3 separate regions of the Homo sapiens genome follow, and all the other regions are linked to region 2. The links are contacts of gene promoters, found by promoter capture Hi-C in blood cells and fetal thymus (Javierre and others, 2016). All regions are on one chromosome and are shown on one strand. Each heading gives the region's core, a stretch centred on a gene start or on the middle of the fragment in contact. The rest is flanking DNA. Distances are from core to core; before and after follow the strand shown. Region 1 holds the start of PDAP1 (PDGFA associated protein 1). Region 2 holds the start of ZSCAN21 (zinc finger and SCAN domain containing 21). Region 3 overlaps ZKSCAN5 (zinc finger with KRAB and SCAN domains 5).

What was found. The method cuts DNA at HindIII sites, captures the fragments that hold promoters and counts their contacts. A CHiCAGO score of 5 or more calls a contact.
Region 1: a contact is called between the fragment with the promoter of PDAP1 here and the fragment with the promoter of ZSCAN21 in region 2, in 1 of 17 cell types (M1 macrophages). The highest score is 5.4, in M1 macrophages.
Region 3: a fragment that was not itself captured here is called in contact with the fragment with the promoter of ZSCAN21 in region 2 in 1 of 17 cell types (M0 macrophages); the score reaches 5.1 in M0 macrophages.

What each region holds. Positions count from the first base shown.
Region 1 is chr7:99,406,301-99,409,866 of GRCh38, reverse strand. PDAP1 (PDGFA associated protein 1) reads left to right here and starts at 1,270. Exons shown (of 6, transcript NM_014891.7): 1 at 1,270-1,331. The coding sequence starts at 1,319. It overlaps BUD31 (BUD31 spliceosome associated protein), which reads right to left and starts at 898. Exons shown (of 6, transcript NM_003910.4): 1 at 622-898. It overlaps MIR12119 (microRNA 12119), which reads right to left and starts at 695; the gene lies at 603-695. RefSeq lists an enhancer at 842-1,231 and a silencer at 1,442-1,501. The HindIII fragment of the contact is 3,476 bases long and covers 1-2,632 here.
Region 2 is chr7:100,047,885-100,051,831 of GRCh38, reverse strand. It overlaps ZSCAN21 (zinc finger and SCAN domain containing 21), which reads right to left and starts at 2,058. Exons shown (of 4, transcript NM_145914.3): 1 at 1,991-2,058. RefSeq lists an enhancer at 1,537-2,156. The HindIII fragment of the contact is 10,625 bases long and covers 1-2,921 here.
Region 3 is chr7:99,516,154-99,520,064 of GRCh38, reverse strand. ZKSCAN5 (zinc finger with KRAB and SCAN domains 5) reads right to left here. Exons shown (of 7, transcript NM_145102.4): 4 at 156-238. Among named protein-coding and RNA genes, the nearest start is that of ZKSCAN5, 13 kb to the right of the region's middle. The HindIII fragment of the contact is 351 bases long and covers 1,787-2,137 here.

The DNA.
Region 1 (3,566 bases), core at 21-2,520, 640 kb after region 2:
TAAGTATTTACCTTTCAGCATAACAGATTCATCTCTCTCAAATTCATTCAGTCACTCCCTTCTGTACTGACACTTTACAAAGACCCACCCCCCCCCCGCCCACAGAGCCTCCTCTCATGAACTCTCTAAAACAACCATATAGAGGAGGAATCAAACTCTATAAGGTAGAATCAGGGTCACACAGCTGAGAATTTGCAAAACCTGACTCTGGAGGGCTCCTGACTCCCAAATCAGTGGTCTTCGCACTAGTCTCCCCTACGCTGAAGCTAAAAATAGGTGAATTCTGGTCTCGGCCCCAAGGCGCATAGTCTGTGACAAGAGAATGATCGCTTTTCTACGACCCAGGGAAATTCGAGGGCCCTGATCCAGCCTGGAAGTCAGAAGAGGCCTCTCGGAGGTGAAAATGGTAGGCGGTAACCAGATCGAGGAGAAAGAGGACGTAGGAGGTAATCAGATCGAGAAGAAAGATGTGCCGGGAGGTGTAAGAGAGATTGGGGCGCTAGGGGAAGGAGGCGAGGAGGAGCGAAGGAAGATAGTGCAGGATTGTAGGGAAAACTCATAAAAAGGACAGCATCTGAACCCAGCTTAGAAAAACAATCAGAACACAGAAGACGTTCCTACCAGAGGAAACGGCGCGAGAATCCTAGAGGAAAACCCCCAAATCTACCGTCCCCTCAGAAGAACGAACGTGGCGCCGCCTCCTCTCGGGAGCTCTCTCCGGCCTCAAGGTCCAAAGCCCGAACACATCCCAGTGGCTGGCTGAGAGTCCAGCCACTCATATCTCCCTCCAGGACGGTGCAGACCACCGGTCTCCCGCCTCAGCCGTTGCCAAGGTAATCGAGAACAGAGGGAAAACACATACCGGAAGCTCCTGGAGCTTGGGTAGCTGCTTCTCGACAGAAGGCTTCCGCTCTTCAGGCGATCTCTAAGGCATGAGGTCCTTGCGGAGCCCCGCCCTACCCGCGCGGAGATTGCGTCATCTTAGGTGTCCTCAGCAATGCCTGTATAGAATTCCAGAGCCGCTGTTGCCATTTGCCCTCACTTCCGGTGGGTGGCAGGCAGGGCCACGCGTCTTCCCGAACGGAGAGACTAGGGGCGTTGTTGCCTGGCAGCAGACGGGCAAGCCTGGACTTAGGCGGCGCGCAGGACGGTCCGACTTCGTGCGGAGGCCTCCCTGAGGTCCGGGTCCTTGCGGCCACTGCGGCCACTGAAGCGGCGGCGGCGGCTGGCCCAGGAGGAAGAAGTCGAGCCCAAGCTATTTCCGGTTCCGGTGTCAGTTCGAGGCGCCGCCGCCGCCGCCGCAGCCGCCGGAGCCGCAATGCCTAAAGGAGGTGAGGGGCGGGCGCCGGTGGCCCGCAGGCCTGGAGGGGCGGCCCAGGTCCGGCTTCCGCTGTCCCCTCAGCCCGTGCGCGTCTCTGAGAGCAGCGCAGAGGGAGGCTGTCCGCACCGGCTGAGAGCCAGGCCTGGGCCTCGACGCCCAATTGTCCCGATGGGGAAACTGAGGACTGTGGTGTCCCAGAGTCACTCCGTCAGTGGTCTGAGGAGTTTCGGAAGCTCTGGGTCCTCGCCGGCCTAGAAAGCCGGATCTAGGATGCGCTTCTCCGGGTCTAGGGGTTCTGGAATTTATCCCACTCTTTGGCTGGCTAGGAACTGAGTCACCGCGTCCCGCGCTTGTGCCGGGCCCGCCTGCCTCTCGCGTAAAACGTGGGCTTTTTCTGGCTTCGGTTCAGCCAGGCCTGCCTAGGAGGACTTAAGGAGATGCCCATGAGCCTTCCAGACCTGGTTTCGACTCCCCCGTTCGGTAGCGGCTCGGTGTGTTCCTTTGAGCCAGTCGCTCCACCTCCTGTGTCTCCGTTTTCTCATTTGCCAATGGGAATAACGATTGTACCTACCTCTTAGTACTGTTGGGAGGCTTCAACTAGGTAATCCACGTGGAGTGCGCAGTACAGTGCCAGGCAGTCGTTAAAAGTGCCCAGTGAAGCAGTAACTATTCTTATTTTTAAGGCTTTGCCAGCTCTTGATCTTGTAAGTAGGTTCATGACTGCCCAGTCCATTGTAGCCCGTCCTCTATCTTCTAGCCCGTTCTCTATCCTGTTTCCCCCTTTAGAATCGATAGTCCCCAGTTTGAATCCCAGCTATGTCACGTCTAATTCTGTGGCCCTGAACAAGTTAACCTCTTCCTCATCTGAAACACTGGGCTAATCCTTAGCTTGTTGAATTGGGGCCGGGGTGGTAAAATTATAGCGCTCATAAAGTGCCTGGCCACCTCCTGGCACAGAACAAATATATTTGTGTTGGTAGCTCATGTGTTATATTGGTTAATGCACTCAACCCACAGAAACATCTGCCTGTAGCGTTTTCAAACCTAAATCGCTTCCTGACTCCAGAGATAATTGGGCATTACAGAGCTAAATGTGTTTAAACCTAGCTCTCTACTGATTTATTCTGTGGCTGGAAAAGTCTCTCTGCTATTGTTCCCCAGTCCCTTCATCTGTAAAAGGAGGTTGCTGAATGAGCCATCCTCCCTCCGAAGTTTTACTTAATGGATACTTTGGGTAAAGGTTGGAGGTTACAACGATAAAACCTTAAATATGAATTCATAGCTAAATGGTCTTTGGGCTTGTGAAAAGCTTTTTGGGGTAGACAAGGTTTACATTTTCTTGGGTTAATCTGAAAACCACAAAAAACCGTGAAGGTGTTAAAAGTATCAAACTCCCTAAGAGCAAAGGACCAACGCTTGTTTCCATTATGTTAAGTGCAAATCGTTTTTTAAAGTCTTGAAGAGTCTACTATAAAATTACTGTGGACCAAGCTAAGGTCAGGGTCCCATAGCCAAGTGCATGAGAGGAGAGCCTATAGTAATCAATTTTGAGTTGTTACTGTTGCCTGGTGTATTAAGAGAGCAAGAAAGGGTGTTGGTTTTTTTCTTGGCACACTTGCTCTCTCACAATAGGACTTTAATAAGCATAGACTTAGACACCCCTGGGAACCTAGGTAGTCATTAAAAATGGGTGGTGTGATCTTTAGCAGCCCAATTATGGCTTTGCAGCTGCTGTAAGGAATCAGAGGAGGCCAGTATCTCTGCTACCGCCTCTGGAGTGCAGAGCAACTCTGGCTGATTACAGAGTCTCTGCTCACAGAGACAGACTATGGAAATCAGGTGGGCCTCAGCTTCCTGTGTGGAAGTTGAGGCCACAGCCACCCTTGCATACTTGGGGACCAGCAGAGGGGGATGCCACCTTGCTTTAAAACTGGCTGATGGCTTAAGCAAGGGTCAGCCTGGTGTTCTGGCTGAAGAGGGTCAGACTATAAAACTGACACTTTAACTGCTAGTCACATTTTTAACTTTTAGACTGTGTAGTCAGGTTTGTTTTCATCTGTACTTTGCCAGTCATTTCTTAGTCTAAGCACAAAGTTTTTGCCTGTAGGTTTGGGTTTCTTTTTTTTCCCTTAAGTATTCTCTTTTTGCCATACTACTAAGGTGAACACAAGGTATTTTATTGTGTTTCCAACATCTGCAGTAAATTGCTTATGTGCTCAGTGGTGCTTTTGTTGTTGTTTTTCCA
Region 2 (3,947 bases), core at 809-3,308:
CAAGCAAAAGTTCATGGTCTATCATAAACAGAAGGCCCTTGTTCTGTGTCCATTTTCCCTCCTCCTTTATGCCAATCTCCCACAGCTTATATGCCCTTATGAAAGCGCCCCAAGTCCATTCTGTAACAAGATGAGGCATAAAAAAATCAAATTACCATAGATTCTAAAAGTAGAACAGCACTTACCCACTTGTGCTAAAATGCTTCACACTCAGTCCGTACCTGAAAATCCCTAGGGGGCCCGGCGCCGTGGCTCACACCTGTAATTCCAGCACTTTGGGAGGCCCGAGGCGGGCAGATCACGAGGTCAGGAGATCGAGACCATTCTGGCTAACACGGTGAAACCCCGTCTCTACTAAAAAATACAAAAAATTAGCCAGGCGTTGTGGCGGGCGCCTGTAGTCCCAGCTACTTGGGAGGCTGAGGCAGGAGAATGGCTAGAACCCGGGAGGCGGAGCTTGCAGTGAGCCGAGATCGCGCCACTGCATTCCAACCTAGGCGACAGAGCGAGACTCCATCTCAAAAAAAAAAAAAAAAAAAAAAAAAAAAAGAAAATCCCTAGATCCCTAGGCAGCCAAATTAGATAATTCTTGAGCCACAGAATTCCACTAATTGTTACAAGTTCTTCCTTTTTTTTTTTTTTTTTTTTTTTTTGAGACGTAGTTTCACTCTTGTTTCCCAGGCTGGAGTGCAATGGCGCGATCTCGGCTCACCGCAACCTCTGCCTCCCAGGTTCAAGCGATTCTCCTGCCTCAGCCTCCTTACAGGCATGTGCCACCACGCCCGCCTAATTTTGTATTTGTAGTAGAGACGGGGTTTCTCCATGTTGGTCAGGCTGGTCTCGAACTCCCGACCTCAGGTGATGCACTCGCCTCGGCCTCCCAAAGTGCTGGATTACAGGCATGAGCCACCGCGCCCGGCCACACAAATTCTTTAACCTGAATCAAATTCCGCATCATTTCAAAAATCCTAGGTTAGTCCAAGACCAATACTCACTTTCTCCATAGCAGCCTTCCAACACTTGAAAACAATTATCTTGCCTCTTAATTCTTTTCCTCTCCACAGCTCAACTGTTCCTTAGATTTCGTGGGTTTCCAAGTACCTCACCCATCAAATCAACGTTCTTTTTTTTTGTGAGACCAAGTGTTGCTCTGTCGCCCAGGCTGGAGTGCAGTGGCGTGATCTCGGTTCAGTGCAACCTCCACCTGGTGGGTTCAAGCGATTCTCCTGCCTCAGCCTCCTGAGTAGCTGGGATTACAGGCGCGCTCCACCACACCCAGCTAATTTTTGTATTTTTCGTGGGGACAGGGTTTGGCCAGGCTGGTCTCGAACTCCTGACCTCAAGTGATCCGCCGGCCTCGGCCTCCCGAACTGCTGGGATTACAGGCGTGAGCCACCGCGCCTGGCCCAAATCAACTTTGTCCTGACACTCTTTTATTTATACATGGTTCTTTAAGACTGTTTTTCTAAACCATGAGCAGATCCCTATTCTGTGTGTGTGTTCTAGCCCGAACAAAGCCCGAGGGGACTATTTCTTCCCTTGGATTTGATTCTACCCAACACTTCTAATGAGGTTCGGCTTCCCACAGGTTTCCAACACCTTGGGCGTATTGCCATCAATGAGCCTTGCGTTCGGACCTCCAGTTCAGAGAAAGGGAAAAAAGGCGGCCACGGTCAGACTGATAGACGGCTTGGCTTGGGGAACGCACAAAAAAAACTATTCTGGAACGCGAAAGAACTTCCAAAACATCTGTTCTTCCAGCTTTCATTTGTTAAAGCCCCAAGTGGAAGAAAAGGCTTTCCAGGCAGCCAGCGCCCCCACCAGCTGGTCCTGGGCGGGGACGAGGAGCTCCTCCCCACAGCCCTGCTAGGACCGGTCTAGGTGGGGTCCTCGGAAGCCACAGCTGCTAAACCCACTCCTCCCTCCCCAGACCATTCAGCCACGGCTCCCTCTCCTGTCCGCCTCGCTAACCCGCGACCAGCAGGCTCACCATGAATCAGAGCCGCTCCGGGTACCGGGAGACCGCACCGCGTACCTCGGGACCGCGCACCCGGAAGTGCGTCATAGCCCCGCCCCCGCGGAAAAGTAGTGCGGGGCCGTAGCGGCCCCTCTAGAAATTCGGGAGGTCCTCTCTGTGTCTCTGGCCCTTGGGACATCAGGGAGGAGTTGAGTCCACCCCGAAAATGAAAAGCCAGGGACTCTTTCTGTTTTTACCGAAGACGGTCAGACCAGATGAAGGCTGCGGCGGTTCTCTCACCCAACCCCGACGCCCTGGGGCAGGGAGGGCATGGGCTGAGGCAGCCACCTCGGTCACCCTCGTGGACTTCAGAGCCCAAGGTCCCTGAGTACCCTTGGGATAAGCACAGGGTTCCTTGTCCATAAACCTGGATCGAGGTCACTGGATACCCTTGGGCCCAGCTCCTCGGTCCAGGTTTATGGACATGGAACGCTGTGCTTGGCCCGTGAAGCCAGAGATTGAGTTAATACTTCGTTGATGAAAACAATCAAACTGTAAAATATTTGAAGACATTTATTTTGAGACAAATATGAGTGACCAATGGCCCAAGGTACAGTCTCAAGAGGTCCTAAGAACATGTACCTATGATGGTCGGGCTACAGCTTGGGTTTATACAATTTAGGGAGACATAAGACACCAATCAAGACATGTAAGATGAACATTGGTTCTGTGGGAAAGGCAGGACAATTCCAAGCGGGGATGTTCCAAGTCATAGGTGAACTCAAGGATCTTCTAATGGGCAACTGGCTGAAAGTTATTGTCTAAAGACCTATAATCAATAGAAAGGAATGTCTGGGATGACTAAGGCAGGGGTCCCCAACCCTTGGGGCACAGACAGATACCAGTCCATGGCCTGTTAGGAACTGGGCCGTTACTGCAGGAGGTGAGCTGCAGGAGCAAAGCTTCACCTGTATCTACAGCCACTCCCCATTGCTCTAATTACTGCCTGAGCTCCGCCTCCTGTCAGATCAGCCATAGCATTAGATTCTTACAGGAGCACAAACCCTATTGTGGACAGTGCATGCGAGGGATCTAGGTTGTGCACTCTTTATGAGAATCTAATACCTGATGATCTGTCGCTGTCTCCCATAATTCCCCAATGGAACCCTCTAATTACAGGAAAACAAACTCAGGGCTCCCACTAATTCTATGTTATGATGAGTTGTACAATTATTTCATGATATATTACAATGTAATAATAATAGAAATAAAGTACACAATAAATGTAATGTGCTTGAATCATCCTGAAACCACGAAACCATCCATCCCCCTCCTGCCATCCATGGAAAAAACTGTCTTCCACAAAACTGGTTCCTGGTGCCAAAAAAGGTTGGGGACCGCTGAACTAAGGGGTTGTGGAGACCAGGGTTCCCATTATGCAGATGGAGCCTCCAGGCAGCCGGCTTCAGAAAGAACAGACTGCAAATATTTCTTATCAGACTTTAAAAAGTGCCAGACGCCCAGTTGATTCTCTCCTGGATCAGGAAAAAGGCCTGGAAAGGGAAGGGGATTCTCTACCAAGTGTAGATTTTCCCCACGAGAAGACAGCTTGGTAGGGTTATTTCAAGATATGGCAAAAAAACATATTTGGGGTGGAAATATTTTCGTTTCCTTCTTTATCTGCCATGTGATGTTATGCCAGAGCCTGGTTGAAAAGTCAGCCAGGTTATATAAAGTTAAATAAAACCTGTCTGATGAGGCTTTATGGTTTGAAGGGGGTGACTCTCCAGGCCCCTTAGATAGTAATTTGGGCAAAAGAAGAAAACAGTCAGAGTTTAGTCCTCAACTTTGCAGACCAGGGTCATGGTGACATCAATCAGAAGTAGCCTTGCCCTTCTGTGGGTCCTAAACTTCCTGAGCAGAAGACCTAGGGGCTGAACTCCTTCCAATGCTGCAGGACTCGATGAAGATGTCTTTGCCTGCCTTTTCC
Region 3 (3,911 bases), core at 713-3,212, 530 kb after region 2:
CTCAAAGAGGATGGGGAAGGACTAGGCAGAAAGGAAAAAGGCCAAAGGAATGAAGGTACCAACCCAAGATGGGCCTAGTCACTGGCTAAAGAAACAGAACTCTTGGTGAAGGTTCAGGATGGGTCCTCTCTGAGGGCAAAGGGGCACCAGCTCACCTGGGACCCAGTTGAGAGAAGTGAAGCTGTCAGCTCCTGGCTGTCCTTCAGGGGAAGGGAAGGAACTTGGAGAACAGGAAGGGCTAAGGGAGGAGAAAAAGAGGTTTAAGTGAGAACATCTTTGCCCGGTTCTCATTGCCATCATGTTCCTCTTATGCTCAGGAATCCATAATGGCCCCTACTGCGCCGAGGCCAAATTCTTCTGCCTGGCTGTCAAGACCCTCTAATTTCTGGATCCTCTCACACTCTGTTTTATTCCTCCTTTACCCTAGACTTCCTACTTTGGTCAGGCTAATCCCTGCTTGCCTTTCCGCTATAAAGGATGCATTCTGTGACCAGGCACAGTGGCTCACGCCTGTAATACCAGCACTTTGGGAGGTCAAGGGGGGCAGATCACTTGAGGCCAGGATTCAAGGCCATCCTGGCCAACAAGGCAAAATCCCATCTCTACTAAAAATACAAAAATCAGCCAGATGTGGTGATGCACGCCTGTAATCCTGGCTGCTTGAGAGGATAAGGCATGATAATCGCTTGAACCTAGGATGCAGAAGTTGCAATGAGCCAAGATTGCACCACTGCACTCCAGCCTGGGCAACAGAGTCAGCCACTGTCTCAGAAAAAAAAAAAAAAAAAAAATACTGGGCGTGGTGGCTCACGCCTGTAATCCTAGTACTTTGGGAGGCCGAGGCAGGAGGATCACAAGGTCAGCAGTTCGAGACCAGCCCGGCCTGTATGGTGAAACCCCACCTCTACTAAAAATACAAAAATTAGCCGGGTGTGGTGGCAGGTGCCTGTAGTCCCAGCTACTCAAGAGGCTGAGGCAGGAGAATTGCTTGAACCTGGGAGGTGGAGGTTACAGTGAGCCAAGATCGTGCCACTGCACTCCAGCCTGGGTGACAGAGCAAGACTCCGTCTCAAAAAAAAAAAAAAGGTGGGGGCCAGGTACGGTGGCTCACGCCTGTAATCCTAGCACTTTGGGAGGCCGAGGCAGGCAGATCACAAGGTCAGGAGTTAGAGACCAGCCTGGCCAATATGGTGAAACCTCATCTCTACTAAAAATGCAAAAATTAGCTGGGCATGGTGGCGGGCGCCTGTAGTCCCAGCTGCTCAGGAGACTGAGGCAGGAGAATCACTTGAACCCAGGAGGCGGAGGTTGCAATGAGCCGAGATCACACCACTGCACTCCAGCCTGGGTGACAGAGCAAGACTCCCTCTCAAAAAAAAAAAAAAAAAAAAAAAGGATGCATTCTGCTTTGCCAAGATCAAATTTTATTATCTCAAAGAACCACCAAATTCCCACATCTTCCATGAAACTGAAGCATTCCTAACAGTCCAGGGCTGCTCGAGCTTTAATGTACAAATAAATCACCTACATCCCCTAGGGGATCTTGGTACTTGCAGATTCTGACTCAAAAGGCCTGGGGTGAGGCCTGAGAGTTTGCATTTCTTTTTCATTTTTTAATTTAATTAAAAAAAATTTTTTTTTTTGGAGACAGAGTCTCGCTCTGTGGCCCAGGCTAGAGTGCAGTGGCGCGATCTCAGCTCACTGCAACCTCCGCCTCCTGGGTTCAAGCAATTCTCCTGCCTCAGCCTCCCGAGTAGCTAGGATTACAGGTGTGCACCACCAAGCTTGGCTAATTTTTGTAGTTTTAGTAGTGACAGGGTGTCACCACGTTGTCCAGGATCGTCTCAAACTCCGGTGATTCACCTGCAATGGCCTCCCAAAGTGCTGGGATTACAGGTGTGAGCCACTGTGCCTGGCCCCTAGTTTGCACTTCTAATAAGCTCCCAGGTAATGCCAGTGCCACGGCTTCCTGGACCACTCTTGGATTACCACAGCCTCAGAAATCCCTTCCAGAATTTCCATGGTTAGTTTCTATTCAGTCAAGAAATATGTATTAAATCTATTCTCTCTCTCTCTGCCCATCTCAGGAATAGACAAAACAATTCTTACCTTGGAAAAGTACTGTCTAATGCAAGCTTGCCCAACCCACGGCCCGTGGCCCAGGATGGCTTTGAATGTGCCCCAACACAAATTTGTAAACTTTCTTTTTTTTTTTTTTGAGACAAGGTCTCACTCTGTCACCCAGGCTGGAGTACAGTGGTGCAATCTCAGCTCACTGCAACCTCCGCCTCCCAGGTTCAAGTGATTCTCCTGCCTCAGCCTCCCAAGTAGCTGGGATTACAGGCGCCCACCACCACACCCGGCTAATTTTGTTTTGTTTTTTTGAGATGGAGTCTCGCTCTGTTGCCCAGGCTGAAGTGTAGTGATACAATCTTGGCCAACTGCAACCTCCGCCTCCCAGGTTCAAGAGAGTCTCCTGCCTCAGCTTCCTGAGTAGCTGGGATTACAGGCATGTGCCACCATGCCTGACTAATTTTTGTATTTTTAGTAGAGACGGGATTTCGCCATGTTGGCCAGGCTGGTCTTGAACTCCTGGTCTCAACTGATCCACCTGGTTCGGCCTCCTAAAGTGCTGGGATTACAGGTGTGAGCCACCATGCCTGGCCCACAAATTTGTAAAGTTTCTTAAAACATTATGAAGGGCCAGGCACAGTGGCTCACGCCTGTAATCCCAGCACTTTGGGAGGCTGATGAGGGTGGATCACCCGAGGCTGGGAGTACAAGACCAGCCTGACCAACGTGGAGAAACCCCATCTCTACTAAAAATACAAAATTAGCTGAGTGTGTGGCACATGCCTATAATCCCAGCTACTTGGGAGACTGAAGCAGAAGAATCGCTTGAACCTGGGAGGCAGAGGTTGCGCTGAACTGAGATCACGCCATTGCACTCCAGCCTGGGTAACAAGAGCAAAACTCCATCTCAAAGAAATAAACATGAGGGGTTTTTTTGCAATTTTTATTTTGTTTAAGCTCATCAGCTATGGTTAGTGTTTGTGTATTTTATGTGTGGCACAAGACAATTCTTCTTCCAGTGTGGCCCAGGAAAGCCAAAAGATTGGACACCCCTTGGTCTAATGGGAAGGGCACACAGGTAAGCCTTACAGCACAGCGTGAAGAGTGCCATGACGAAAGGTGACCCAAGTTCCCGTGGGACCATAGAGGCAGGAGCACTTACAGAGTGGAGCAGGAGACGCAGCAGCAGCAGCAAAGCCTTTTCCCAGAAAGTGACTCTGGGCAGTAGGAATGGAGATCGGGGAGACAGGGTGCTTTCCCCACAGCAGGAACAGCATGCGCAACACCCGGACATCTCACCTCTGGAAGCTAGGGACCACCTGACCCCGAGGTCACCTCTGCTTGCTCTTTGTCTAAGGTCCACAGCATGTCTGGATCTCACCATCCACATGTGCCTTGACTTGCACAGACCTGCCTGGGATTAAGCTGTAACCGGATAGTTTAGACCCTGTTGGTATTTAGATCTGGAGTCCTGGAGATCTGGGGGCATCCGTGGCTTGCTGATTTCCAATGACTAGGAAATAAGGAGCAATGACACAAAAAGGACGGGACAATGGTTACAGATGAAAGCCAAAAGCAGAGAAGGGATCTGAAACCGGGAGTGGCTAAAGACTGAAAACAGAAGTTGATGAAAATGGTGAATACAGTCTATGTCCGAATGAAGAGTAATTTTGCTAAAATAAACCGGCTAGGATCTGGTTAACAGGGCAGAGAGGATGAGAAGCAGCTAGAAACAGAGGACAAGAGCCAGATGGAGAGAAACCCTGAAAGTGGACAGAACCCAAGTGACTCGAGGAGGGAGCAGTCTGTGCCTAGGAGAGAAGCTGCTGCTGAAGCAA